Linked DNA regions of Homo sapiens: region 2 is linked to region 1. Evidence: promoter capture Hi-C in human tissues and cell types (Jung and others, 2019). All regions are on one chromosome and are shown on one strand. Each heading gives the region's core, a stretch centred on a gene start or on the middle of the fragment in contact. The rest is flanking DNA. Distances are from core to core; before and after follow the strand shown.

The links. The method cuts DNA at HindIII sites, captures the fragments that hold promoters and counts their contacts. A contact is called where the count stands out against the background at its distance.
Region 2: a contact is called between a fragment that was not itself captured here and the fragment with the promoter of DCC in region 1, in 1 of the 25 tissues and cell types used here (stomach).

Annotation. Positions count from the first base shown.
Region 1 is chr18:52,338,757-52,341,607 of GRCh38, forward strand. It overlaps DCC (DCC netrin 1 receptor), which reads left to right and starts at 1,441. Exons shown (of 29, transcript NM_005215.4): 1 at 1,441-2,122. The coding sequence starts at 2,032. The HindIII fragment of the contact is 11,241 bases long and covers 1-2,851 here.
Region 2 is chr18:52,294,087-52,296,786 of GRCh38, forward strand. No RefSeq gene overlaps it. Among named protein-coding and RNA genes, the nearest start is that of DCC, 45 kb to the right of the region's middle. The HindIII fragment of the contact is 4,227 bases long and covers 1-2,700 here.

The DNA of each region.
Region 1 (2,851 bases), core at 191-2,690:
AACACAGGCACTTCATATTTTAACTTTTCCAGGACAGGAAGGAATGGGCATGACTAGGGATCTAAAACACTGTTGTCCAGTTCCAGCATCATAGGAGTTTCCCTGATGATGATTTTATCCTGGATTTTTCATGCTTTCCCTCACGCCTTTCTTCTTAAATAGATGTTCACATTCTCTCTGCTCACAGCCTGGTGAGCATGGGAGGGTGACAAGAACAGGTGGGGAAGAATCTAGTAAGGAATGGTCTGAATCCACAGCTGAACATCTCCTTAAACGACAGAATTTTACCAGAATGACATTTCTATTCATTATCCTTCCCGGCCAAATTAATTGGTTTGTAAGTTCACTTATTCTGCAGAAACGTATTGGCATGTGCAGAATTCCAAGTTCTATGCTAGCATCTGTGAGGAGTGCAAAAATGGATGGCATACAACCTCTCTCTTCTCAAAGGAGCTTGAGTTCCCGCAGCAGAGACAAGTTATGCAAAGGAACTCAGCTTAAAACAGTTTCCTGAAAGGGCTTTACTGTTCACCCTTCCTAAGTTTCCTGCTGTGTGTGTGCTTGTGTGTGTGTGCACACACACGCGTGTGTATGGTTGCTTCACTTTATCTGCCAGGGACTGGAGAAATGTCTCTCTTGTTTTCCCAGAGCACCCCCTCCATTACGTGAACCATCATATTTATCACGATACTTTATAATTATCCATTTAGCTTCTCTCCTGACGGATCACAAACCCCTTGAGGATAGAGACTGAGTCTCACTGGATGTCCCAACTATTTCCTGGGAGCCAACAGAACACCTGGAACATGATAAGTGCTTTTAAATATGTTAAAGAAAACAATTGCGAGAGAAGAGAGAACACAGACGACATGAGACGTCCTACAAAAGGAGGCCCCTTAGCTATTATGTCAGGAAATAACTCTGGCCTTTGTCCTGTCCGCTGTGTGTTTCAGGATCTCGATTTCCCTCCCGTCCTAGAAGGGAGTTGGATCAGGTGATTCTTTCCAAATGAAAAATTGTATTTTAAATAATGCCAAGGGCAGAGAAGGAAGTAAACATCCTGGCCACCTCCTCCGCCTTAAACGCCCGCCTAGGTTTTACAGTCAAATACCAATAATTTCCTGAAGGCTGAGTGTCAAACACGGTCGCTGCAAAACCTCCAGACGCTCAGGATGTTCGCAGGCTCCATTGACAAAAGTGACTTCCCACGCTTTGCCCACAGAGGGCATCCCTGCGCATTGATACGCAGACCAGGCAAATGCAGCTCCTGGAAGCCTCCTCGGTCCGCTCTTTTTTCCCTAAGCCATAGTCTGTCTGCCCCCACCCCCTTCCCGTGGAATCTTTGCCTGATCCAGTTCGTTTCCCTCCGGTCTCCACATTTTCCCTTCCAGCCCTCCACTTCTCCGGATCAATGTGTAGTACGGTTCCAACTCCCAGCTCGCACACCGCTGGCGGACACCCCAGTAACAAGTGAGAGCGCTCCACCCCGCAGTCCCCCCCGCCTCTCCTCCCTGGGTCCCCTCGGCTCTCGGAAGAAAAACCAACAGCATCTCCAGCTCTCGCGCGGAATTGTCTCTTCAACTTTACCCAACCGACGACAAGGAACCAGCCTCAACCTTTTAATGCACAGCCCGGCCACAGGATTGCCTTCCATCTCCTCTTGGTCCCTCCTGGATGTGGTTTATTGATGACTTGCGAGCCCCTCAGAGAGCTGTCTTCCCTCCTCTGGCTCCCTCCGTTTCCTTGAGTTAGTTTTCTAAGGTTTTACCGGGGCTCGGGATCTCTTGGACCGAATGGAACTTTTTGCTGCCTGCTTTTGCTGCTGATTCTGTCAGTGGACAAGGAAAAAGGCTTCGAAGGCAGCAGAGGCGCAGGGGAGGTGGAGAAAGAGGTGGAGGAAGAGGACGAGGAGGAGGAGGAAGCCGAAGGGGCTCGGCGCGTGTGTGTGCATGTGTGCATGCGTGTGTGAGTGCATGTGTGTGAGTGCTGCCGCTGCCCGCGACCCCTGGCCCCGAAGGTGTTGGCTGAAATATGGAGAATAGTCTTAGATGTGTTTGGGTACCCAAGCTGGCTTTTGTACTCTTCGGAGCTTCCTTGTTCAGCGCGCATCTTCAAGTAACCGGTAAGTGGCTCTTTCCTTTCTTCTCGTCGCACCCCCTTCCGTACCCCACTTCCCTTCTCATTTCATTTGGCGAGTAGTAGAATTGGGGTGGGGGATAGCAAGAGATTTGGCGCTTGCGCTGCCCCCATTTGCGCACCGATGATAAAAGATAGAAGAGTTTTTTTCTTCCCTGGGGGCGGATGATGGTGGGGGGGTGGTACAAGGGGCGCCCCTTCGCTGTTTTAAAATCTGATGCTTCACGCATTTTTGCTTCTGCAAATACTTGGGTTGGTTTGGAGAGCCGGCGGGCTGGGGCAGGTGCTGGGGATATCGTTGAAAGGAACTGGGCTGGGTCCTTAAAGCCCCAGAAACCTACCAAGTGGGGAGGATTGGGGCAACAGGAGCAGGCGAGGAGGACATCCAGGGGCTTTGAGGAAGTCTGCGCAGAATGTAGATGGTGGGGCTGAGTCGTTGGTGTGTGAATACATCTCCTTTTGGTTTGGATTTTTGGACTTGGTGATTGAGAATAGGGAAAGGGACAGCTAATATGTTTTGGTACTTCCAAGGAGGGGATCCTGGTACTGAAGGAGGCACAGAGTTGCCAAGGAGGAGGGGAGGTGTGTTTAATATTGTTTTATTTTTTAACGGTGAATGTAGTTCGCAAGCTGAGTCTCCATATAGCTCCAGGACACCTCCAAACTCCAAGTGATTGATATTCCAGAGAACCGGCGCCCTGACCCTGGCACTTGC
Region 2 (2,700 bases), core at 88-2,587, 45 kb before region 1:
ATCATTGCCTAAATCAAAGCATTACTTTTTACCAAGGAGTTAGAGGAGAAGAGCCAGAGTCCCGCAGAAGTAGAAGAACATACTTAAAATGAAAAGTGAGATGTATTGTATGGCAGAATTACATAAGATTTGCTGTTATTGGATTCAAGTTGACCTAATACTACCTTTCCAGTTTGTATAATACTTACTCAACTCTTTATAATTCTTTAAAAATGATTTGATAAAAATCCCATTCAGAGTATTATTACATTAGATGAGACATTAATTTTCTTGTTAAACCTCAGAAATGTGCAACTGAATTCCTTTAGGTATTTAGAACACTCTTAATTATATCTTTAAGATTTATTTTTTCAGTTTTATTACAAAACAAAAGTGTAAATTTAAAAAGATAAATTGGAACTATAAAAATAGACAAGATAAAACTCATACATGATACATTCTCTACATGAGTAAATATCCTAATTAAAAGTGAGATTCAATCACCATATATAATTCCAAAGATGTCTACTAAAGCCAGAACTGGAATGATAATTAGAGATAAAGATTTGTTTAAATGTTCTGTCTTTAAATATTTTTATATTATTGTGTATAATGGCCCTCCCATATTAATAAGAATCAAAGTAGAATTCAACTCCTACAGGTGAGCCTGGTCAAATGTCCCCATTCAAGGACATCTTCATGTCAGTACATGCATGGATAAGATTCATTTTGTCCATGCCCTGGCATAGAGTTTTCGATGAGTTCGTGTTTCTGCAGGATCAGTGGGCTATAGTCATGTAGTTATGACTATAACTCTGCTTGCCTAGCTAGCTAACTACTCTCATTTCTAGAATCAAAAGAGAAAAATGTCTATGTATGAGAATAGAGTTGCTCTTCTGGATTTCAAGAATATGACAAATGTGGGTTATTTCATTAGTATTTTGAAAAGGTTGTCAATATTCCACCTCAGAATGAATGTAGATCTATGGTATATTAGTCCATTTGCATGCTGCTGATAAATATATACCTGAGACTGGGAAGAAAAAGAGGTTTAATTGGACTTACAGTTCCACATGGTTGAGGAGGCCTCAGAATCATGGTGGGAGGTGAAAGGCACTTCTTATATGGCAGTGGCAAGAGAAAATGAGAGAGATGCAAAAGGGAAAATCCCTGATAAACCCATCGGATCTCATGATACTTATTCACTACCACAAGAACGGTATAAGGGAAACTGTCCCCATGATTCAAATTATCTCCCACCAGCTCCCTCCCACAACACGTGGGAATTATGGGAGAGCAGTGCAAGATGAGATTTGGGTGGGGACACAGAGCCAAACTATATCATATGGCCTCCCTATGGGACGTTATACAACTCTCTCATTACTCAATATTTACTGAGCATCTATTATGTGTCAGGCATTGTACTAGATACAACGTGACAAGCAAGACATGTTTTCCATTTTATGTGAGGCCTTTAAGACCCCCTGTGGAAACAATACCATTAGGTATTCAGTGTCACTCTGCACAGCAAGAAGCAAGGGAGAAAATAGTCCCTTACTATACACATTTAATTCTGAGAATCTGAGCTGTGGCATGATTTGGGCCCATTTCTGTGAGTAGGTGGGATGCAACTATTCAAAGAAGAATTTTAACTTCACAAAAATATTTCTATTCTACTCTCTACTTGATAATTTAAAAAAAACAGGGTGCAATCAAAAAGGAGCCCATGTTTTAAAATAAAATGTATAACTCCATTAATATATGTGTGCATGTGTATGTGTGTGTATGTGTGTATATGTGTATATCTATGTATATATGTGTATGTATACATTAGTCCACATAAACACATATATAAATATATGTAGGGAGTGATTAATGCTTTACATAATGGAAGAAATTAAAATATTTGAATATATAAATAAAATGTATATATAAACATAAAAATGAAAGAGTGGTTACAAAAATATTAATGATAATCTCAAAATTGTGGGATAGTATGTGACATTTTCTTTCATACTTTTTTATGTTGTTAGGATGTTTTACTATAAGCATGTATTATATATATATAATTAAACATAAGTAAAACTGTTTATTGAGAAAAGAAGACCTGTGTAGCAATGCTAACTACCTGGCTCTCACCATAAAATATAAACTCAAATGGACTGTCACTGAGATTTTTTTCAAGTATGCGGTGAAGAGAAACAAGATAATCATTTGAAAAACATGCAATTTGTTCACTTCCAATGTCTTGTTTTAGCTCTGGACTCAACCAGACCATTCCAGAGCTGTGTACATGGGTTATCTTGCCTTATTTTTATCTTTCCCAGACCCCACCACTGGCATTTTGACTTTGTATTAAATGAAGCAAACAAAATTCCTGAAAAACTAACATACCAAAGATTTGCAACATAAAGGTACACAAAGGAACCTTCTGTTACACAAAATTAGGAAAAAAGCATTCTTTCTCTTAGAATTTGGTATGCTTTATGAAGTATGTGAATTTTGACACTTGTGACATGTCCTATTTTGCTTTGACTGAAAGGAATCTTTTAGCACAGACATTTGTAATCTAAATCTAATTACAATATATCAGTGTTTTTCAACCTTTTTCCCCCATTATTGCCTCCCTAGGGAGCCTTTTAAGGCATACTTTTTCTAGCCAATTATGGCTCCCCGTGAAATTTTAATACTACAGATATACTATATATCTGTTTATGTATT